Regions from separate parts of the Homo sapiens genome. Here all the other regions are linked to region 1. Evidence: promoter capture Hi-C in 16 types of primary human blood cells and fetal thymus (Javierre and others, 2016). All regions are on one chromosome and are shown on one strand. The core of a region is centred on a gene start or on the middle of the fragment in contact, and the rest is flanking DNA. Distances in the headings are between cores, read along the strand shown.

Evidence for each region. Contacts are between HindIII fragments. The CHiCAGO score rates a contact against its expected background, and 5 or more counts as called.
Region 2: a fragment that was not itself captured here is called in contact with the fragment with the promoter of STIM1 in region 1 in 1 of 17 cell types (non-activated CD4 T cells); the score reaches 5.7 in non-activated CD4 T cells.
Region 3: a contact is called between a fragment that was not itself captured here and the fragment with the promoter of STIM1 in region 1, in 1 of 17 cell types (total CD4 T cells). The highest score is 5.0, in total CD4 T cells.

Annotation. Positions count from the first base shown.
Region 1 is chr11:3,854,341-3,857,040 of GRCh38, reverse strand. It overlaps STIM1 (stromal interaction molecule 1), which reads right to left and starts at 1,377. Exons shown (of 13, transcript NM_001382567.1): 1 at 632-1,377. The coding sequence starts at 770. STIM1-AS1 (STIM1 antisense RNA 1) reads left to right here and starts at 1,463. Exons shown (of 2, transcript NR_183662.1): 1 at 1,463-1,684; 2 at 2,383-2,700. It overlaps MIR4687 (microRNA 4687), which reads right to left and starts at 979; the gene lies at 900-979. RefSeq lists enhancers at 462-511, 522-601, 752-961, 1,177-2,122, 2,332-2,401 and silencers at 1,182-1,341, 1,402-1,461, 1,942-1,991. The HindIII fragment of the contact is 6,805 bases long and covers 1-2,700 here.
Region 2 is chr11:4,124,605-4,127,304 of GRCh38, reverse strand. It overlaps RRM1 (ribonucleotide reductase catalytic subunit M1), which reads right to left. Exons shown (of 19, transcript NM_001033.5): 13 at 472-621; 14 at 49-270. Among named protein-coding and RNA genes, the nearest start is that of RRM1, 31 kb to the right of the region's middle. The HindIII fragment of the contact is 4,129 bases long and covers 1-2,700 here.
Region 3 is chr11:4,145,687-4,148,386 of GRCh38, reverse strand. It overlaps the pseudogene OR55B1P. Among named protein-coding and RNA genes, the nearest start is that of LINC02749, 40 kb to the left of the region's middle. The HindIII fragment of the contact is 2,302 bases long and covers 208-2,509 here.

The DNA of each region.
Region 1 (2,700 bases), core at 128-2,627:
GTGGTCCCAGGAATTATATCATGTCTATGTCAAGAAAAGGCCATTTAACACCCTAGTTGTAAATAGGATTCCATCTAAGAAACCGCCTGGATATTTCAAATGCGCACAGCAAAGAGACAAGACTACCTAAGGGAAGGGTGGGACTAGGGTTCCCACGGTTGTTGGAATAGGCACACCTGAACACCAGGCTTTCAGGCAACAGAGGTGGCCCAGCCTTAACTTTCCCTTTCCAACATAAGTGGCCCCAACCTCCCCCATGCTGCTCAGTACTAAAACCGAATAGGAGCAATGAACTTATCATCTCACCAGGCCATTCTTCCAGACAAGTAGGCCTAAGATGGGGTCTTTCCTTGCTGATCTAAAAGGTCAAGTTGCCCCAAAGGCTTCTTCTTACTGCCAACAAAAAAAATCCTGAGTGCGGGGGATGAGGAAAGTTGTTCAGGAAAGATACAGGCATTTGCCATGACTACTGACCAGAAAGAACTTCTTGAACTACTTGGAACAGGCAGTGCCATGTGTGAATCCTCCATGAACCTCACATGTACAAACCTAGATTTCAACTTGCCCACTTCGGGCCACTCAGTCCTGAGCCAAAGCCTCCAGCCCAGTCCAGCCCGCAGCAAGGCCTTACCTGCTGCAGTGGACTCCTCAGAGTTGGCCCCCGAGCTGGTTCCTGTCGCCTTCTCACTGTGACTATGGCTGAGGCTCTGGCCCTGGTGCAGGAGGAGTCCCCAGAGGAGCCACAGGGCAAGACGGACGCATACATCCATGACTCTAGGTCTCAGTCAACATGCGTCTGATGTGGACACCTCGGGATCCCAGAGGCAAAGCCAGGAGCCCGGGAGTGCAGCCGACGGTCTCCAGGCAAGATGCCCTCGCGGCTCCGCAGCTGTCCAGCCACCCGCGAGCCTGCCCCCTCCAACAGCCAAAGGTCAAGTGCTCCAAGTTTGGGTGCGGGAGGAGGGCTGGCTCCTCAGGTCCAACAGTGGGTCCGCCGGGGCTGCGGCGGCCTGAGCTCGTGCCGCTTCCGGAGACTTCGGGCAGGGTGGCTGCGGGGCTGCTGTCAGCTCCGCAGATTACTACACCCCTGCGGAAGGGGGCGGCCGGAGTCTCCGCGGGCACAGAAGTGGAGGAGGAAGAGAAGAGAAGAGAAGAGAGGCGAGAAGGGGGCACCTGACCTCGCCCTGCCGAAGAGCGGCGAGCAGCAGAAGCTGGGGAGGGCGTGCGACCCGCAGGGTCCTGAGGGCGCGGGCGTCTCCGGGATCCTGGGCCTCCTAGGCCGAGGTCAGCGCCCCCGCCCAGTCCCGTGCCCAGGCGGCTGGCGGTGCCCAGGTCCAGCAGGCGGACGCACACCGGCCAGGCCCAGGACAGCGGCTTCCAGGCGGGCGGGCGGCGCGGGGCGGGCCCGGGGCGGGCGGGGGCGTGCGTCTCCGCGCCCGCCCCGCGCCGCCCGGTCCCCAGCGAAGCCCGGGCCAGCCCCAGCGCCCAGCTGGATCCCGGAATAACCGGTGAAGACGGCTCCCCGGAATCCCCGCCCCTAGCGGGCTCTCCCGGACCCCCGGCCCGCGCTAGTCTTTGCCAGGATCCCGCGCAAAGGATCAAGTCCCAGCTTCCCTTTCCCCACCGAGAGTCTCCAGCGCCAACCGCGGGCCGTCGGGCGGGTCCCTGACCCGCAGTTACTCAGGTAACTCAGGCCTGCGGCGGCGGCGACAGCAGCTGCCCTGCCCCGATCTCCGGGCCTTGGTGCTGCTCCACTCGCCTCAGTTCTAGAGCTGTCTAAACAGAGGCCCAGGACACGACGTTAGCCTCCCAGGAGCTGCCTGAGGCGACAACAGCCTGACCCGGCTCGGCCCGGGGGCGAGCTCCCAGCCCCCAACTCCCGGCCAGTTCCCAGGCTCCGCCCTCGCGCCTCGCCTGACAACCAATCGGCTTCCGCCTCTCTGCGGCTTGGGAACCCGCGCGCTTCGTCGCCCATGCGCAGCGGCCCCTGGTGGGAAAATCAGCAAACTGCAGACAGGACTCGGCGCTCCTGGGAGGGCCTGCTCTTTTGCAGAGGGTTGCCGAGTGAAGCTAAGACCCGCCCCGGGGGAGGCCCACGAGGGCCACTGGGGCCTGCGAGTGTTTTCTGAGGAAATGATGATGCCAGAAAGCAAAATGAAATGTCCAAACCACTCTAGCTAAAATTCCCCTACACATTCCTTGAGTCTGGGCTAAAGGGTGCCATCTGCTTTCCCGACCCCGCCTCCCTTCCCCTCCAAGCTAAGTGGGATGCCCTCCCTTAGCTCTCACAGCCCTTTTTCCTACCTGCCCTCAAGCTCTCAGCCCTTTAAGGTTTTTCGGTGGGGCCTGTAAATGCTTCCTCCCTGCATCTCATTCTCCCAGCTACCTCTCTGGTGGAGGAGGTGTCAGCGACTTGAGAATGAGTGCGCCAAAGAAGACAGAGCCACGCCTGAGCCTCCTTCAACAAAGCCTGCACTTCCTGTTCTCTTCTCAAGCGTGCTGTCAGCAGATCTTGACTGAAACCTCTGTGCCCTACCCTGTCCTTGGCACCAGACGCAGGGGAAAGGATCAGGCCCAGTCCCTCCTCTGACTGACAGTGCTAAACCAGCTACCTGTTCTGAGCAAGGCCCCTGAAGACTGGGAACACGAATTTGCCCAACAGCTGCCTGGCTTAAGGGTTAGGCCGTTGATATAAAAATA
Region 2 (2,700 bases), core at 137-2,636, 270 kb before region 1:
CCCACTACAGGTACTCACAGGCAAAAACAATTCCATCCATATACTTACTCCTTTGCTAACTGGAGAGCCCTCATAGGTTTCGTATGGGCCCTGCTCCTTGGCAAGGTCACAGCTGGCTTCCAGAGCACCATAATAAATAGTTTCAAAGATCTGCTTATTCAGTAACTGGGCTTCTGCACTCTCAAAAGGGTATCTCATCAGGATAAAAGCATCTGCCAGACCTTGTACCCCAATTCCAATGGGGCGATGGCGTTTATTTGATAGGCATGCCTTTGTGTCAACAGATTTTAAAGAAAAGGAGAAAACATTACTGAACAGGAAAAGCAACATTCTGTACCAAATGAGACAGACTACCTCTTTTTCTCAAACCATTTTATTGATAACCATTTAAATGATGACTTGAAGATCATGATTGATTCCTTTCAATTTGGATTTCAATAATTACCAATAAGCAGAGAAATCTATTCATACCTCTGGTACAGGATAGTAGTTTATATCAATAATTTTATTCAAGTTTCGGACAACGACTTTAGTGACTTCAGCCAACTTCTTAAAGTCGTATGTGTGTTCTGATGTGACATACATATTCAGGGCCAGGGAAGCCAAATTACAAACAGCAACCTGGAATGCAAAAAACAGGTCAAGAATCACACAATTTTTATTTCTACTTCCTGTGTCAATTACACCACCATGTGAGCCTCTAATACTCAGACATTAAAATTTTAAATTTTTATATTTGACTTCTCCCTCTTCATCATTCATCAGTCCATTTCTAAATCCCACTGATTCTATTTCTTCAATACCTAGTCATATGTGTTAGTTATAACATGCATCAGCAAAATAGGTAAGAGAGAGAGAGAACCCTATGTTCCACAGTACACAGCTCTATTACCAGACATATATCACACTATGTTATAATTAGCTTTTTACATATACCTATCTCATTATTCAGTAGATGAGTGCCCTGCAATATGGTAGCCACTGGCTACATATATCTATTTAAAATGAAATAAAATTTGAGTTTCTCAGTTGCACTAGTCATATTTCAAGTGCTCAATAGCCATCAGATACAGAACATTTCCATCACTGCAGAGTTCTTCAAAACACACACGTCCACCTCACCTTCACTGATATTCTGACAAGCCCTTAGCAACAATGGATCTCAATTTGTGATTTCTGAAAAAGCTCTTCCAGTGATTTCTCCACTACACGAGGCAGTGAGCTTCTTCACACAAGGATCATCTTATTTATATTTATATGTTTAGCACTAGCAACACATCTGGCACACAGTAAGTCTTGATAATGTTGAATGAATACACTTTCTTTTCCATTTTGATTATGACTATCCCAAGCCAAAGTCTTAACTTCTCTCACATGGACTACTGAAAGTTTCCCAGTTGAACTCTTGATGCCCTTCACATCTACTCCATTCTACACATGTTGCCAAATACCCATTTTTTTAAATATAGCTTGAATCACAGAAGTCTAATAAATGCCAGGAAGAAAAATAGGCAGGAAAAGAAGACAGAGAGTACTGGGGATAAAGATGAAGGGGGTATAATTTTTAAACAGAATTGTCAAGAAGGACCTCATTGAAAATGTTACATATGAACAAAGAACTGAACAGGTTAGAAAGCAAATCATGTGGCTATGGGAAGAGGGGGTGCATTTTAACATTCAAGAGGGAAGAAGGAGCAAAAATCCTGAGGTAGGAGCATGGTTGACATGTTTGAGAAAAAGCAAGAAAATTAATAGGGTTGGAGCAAAGTGAACAAAGGGGAAAGTAACCGCAGATGAGGTGGGTTATCCAGTTGTGTAGGACCTTGTAGGGCACTGTAAGAACTCTGGATGGAAAGGAATGAAGTACTGATACATGCTACAACATGAATAAAAGAACATGTTAAGTGAAAGAAGCCTGACACAAAAGGCCACATATTATATGACTCCATTCCTATGGAATGTCCACAATGTCCACAAATCTAGAGACAGAAAATATATTAGTGGTTGTCAAGGGCTGAGGGAAGAAGGGAACAGGGAGTGACTGCTAATGGATAAAGGGTTTCATTATCTACAGTGATAAAAATGTACTACAGGCCGGTCACGGTGGCTCACGCCTGTAATCCCAACACTTTGGGAGGCTGAGGTGGGCGGATCACGAGGTCAAGAGATTGAGACCATCCTGGCCAACATAGTGAAACCTCGTCCCTACTAAAAATACAAAAATTAGCTGGGTGTGGTGGCACGCGCCTGTAGTCCCAGCTACTCGGGAGGCTGAGGCAGGAGAATCGCTTGAATCCAGGAGGCGGAGGTTGCAGTGAGCCGAGATCGAGCCACTACACTCCAGCCTGGTGACAGAGCAAGACTCTGTCTCAAAAAAAAAAAAATAAAATAAATAAATACTACAATTAGATAGTGGTAATGGTTGCACAGACTTGCAGATATACTAAAAAAAAGAAAAGAAAAGAAAAGAAAAAAAACACTGAATTGTACATTTTAAAAAGAGTGAATTATAGCTCAATTTGCAAAAAGAAAGAACTCTGTTGAGGTTGCAGTGAGCCACAGCCCAGCTTGGGCAACAGAGTGAAATCTTGACGCCCCCCGAAAAAAAAGGAATTCTGCATGGGTTAGCAAGCCAAAGAGTAGTTTTGTGCAGACAAATGACATTATCTGATTTTTATTTTAAAAATGTCACTCTAGCCT
Region 3 (2,700 bases), core at 109-2,608, 290 kb before region 1:
TGCTTGAAGTGACCAGGCGCAGTGGCTCATGCCTGGGAGGCTGAGGCAAGAGGGCTGCTTGAGTCCAGGAGTTCAAAAACAGCCTGGGCAAAATAGCAAGACCCTACCTCTTAAAAAAAAAAAAAAAAAAAGCTTGAAGACTGTTGAATGCTGCCTAGTTTGTGGAGTATCAGGTATGTAGAACAGTCCTGGCCCCTGGCCAAAGCTTTGAAACAACTGCTGTAAGATCCCAATTAAATGTTCAGCCTCCTATTGTCTTCTTCCTGTTCCTCATGCACCTACTCAACAAGCAATTCTCAAGCCTGTCCTGCGCCTCTATGGTGACTCTGTGCTTGGAGCTCCAGTGAGCCCACCAGAAGCATGCTATTATCCCTGCCCTCCTGGAACCTACATTCTGAAAGGAAAGCAAACTCATCATCCATGACACTGAGGACAAGGCCAGGCAGCAGGCACCACAGCCAATCTACGAGGACTTAGGAAGGAAGCAGTCTCTGCAGCCTGTTTCTTGTGATCCAGGAAGACCAGAATTCTTCCTCAGCAACTTCCATCTCTCCTTGCCACAGTGTGTCCCAAGCACACAAGTGATGCCATCATTCCCGGCTGGTTCTTCTCTCCCTGTTAAGCCCCACTTGGGCCTTCCCAGACTCCTTGGATCAAAGATTCTTCTAATACTTTCTCTTCCTCTGAATCAAGAGTCTTCTTTTAACCTTTCTTGTTTTGTCTCTGGCTGTCACTCTTTTTCCCCTGTGTATACTACACCTACTTCTCCTCCTAATCTTTTACTGAGCAAATATCTGGAACATTACAAGTAAACAAGTATCTTGTAAGTTTACATTTACATTTCACACACATGAGGCCAAGAGCTCCCTGAGGACAAAGATTGTTACCTACAAAGATTGTAGGTAACTGTGTAGTTCCTACAACACCCGGCTTAGTACTTATCTGTGCCCCAAAGGAATACATACATGAAGAAGTAGGCTTTTATCACAAATTCCTCAGTGTCTACAACAGAAAAAGTCTTTTTAAAATTGACCATTTTGTTCTAACAGTCTCTGATCCCCACTCTTGGTGCCGGCCCAGGGCCAAAGCTAATGGGTGAGGATGGAAATACAAGCACCTTCAACATCTCCTGCACCAAGTTCTTCCTGGTGGGTTTCCCTGGACTTCGAGAGTGGTGGCCCCTTCTGGTCCTGCCTCTTGTCTTCCTCTTTGTGACCATCATCTCTGCCAATGCCCTGGTCATCCACACAGTGGTTGCCCGGCAAAATCTGCATCAGCCTACGTGTATGCTCATCACTGTGCTCCTGGCTGTCAATATTCGTGCTGCCACAGCCGTGATGCCTAAAATGCTGGAGGGCTTTGTATATTATGCTAACCCCATATCGCTGCATGGCCGCCTGGCCTAGGTGTTCTTTATCTACTTCACCCTCCTCCTGGACTACAACTTCCTCTGGCCATGGCCCTGGACTGCTACGTAGCCATCTGCCACCCACTCTGCTATTCTGACCTGATGACCTCCCAGCTGCTGGGACTGCTGGCCATTCTTGCCTTGACACAGAGCCTGGGAGTGACAGTGCCCTTGGTAGTACTAACTGCAAAAGCCCGATTCTGCCGGACAGCAGTGATTCGACACTTCACCTGTGAGTGCATTGCACTGCTGAGCATAGCTTGTGGAGACCTGACCTTCAACAACTGGCTGGGGCTGGCTATGTGTTTGGTCACTGTAATCTCTGATATGGCCCTGCTGGGGACCTCCTACACCCACATCATCTATGCTGCCTTCCGGATCTCTTCTTGGGGAGCCCAAGCCAAGGCCTTACACACGTGTGGCTCCCACCTACTGGTCATCCTCTCCATCTACGTCTCTGGTCTTTCCACTTCCATCACCTTCTGAGTAGCCAAGACTGTGTCCCAGAATGTCCAGAATCTACTCAGTGCCATATACTTGCTGCTTCCAGGAGCCTTGAATCCTGTCATTTATGGGGTGAGGACTAGGGAGATCCAGCAACATGTAGAAAAGATGCTCTGTGAAAAGGAAACAGCCCAGAAGGCTGGGGAGAAGCCAAAGAGGCTGCAGAACATGAGACTGGAAACCGCCAGGGTGAGGGACTTTACTACCTTCGAAAGTTGGGGCTATGATCTCTGAGAAGAGATAAGCAGGCAGTACTCAGGGACAGGCTCAAATTTCCTCAGCAGATTACGGGCTCAACAGCAGGTTCCCTGTTGGTCAACTGTTGCTTGTTAAATTCTTAGAATGCTCTTTGTTTTCACCCCCAGTAATAAAATTGCATTTACCTATTTATCCTTCTTGGTTTATTTTCTCTGTCCTCCTCCCAACTCCTGAGGAAGTCCCAACTAATATCTGGATGTATGGGGCTTCACTAAGGTAGTCTTATAGAGCAAGTCATACAGACCACAACCTGCCCTGTCTGAACAACACCCAGTCTGAAACAAATAAACAGGCGGGCACTTCCCTGAAGCCCAGTCTCTCCCAAACATAGCCTAAGCTTGACATGAAGTTTATTCAGACCTAATACACAGGTCATCCTTGAGGCTTCCAGTCTAATCCAGGTAGCAGGCTGGGTTCTAGAGTCCAGTCAGTCCCAAACACAAGTGAGGTCCTTTCCTGAGATCCCCAAGCTGTACAGGCACATAGGTCAGGTTTACCCTGCGATGTCCAGTCTAGCCCACACAAACAGG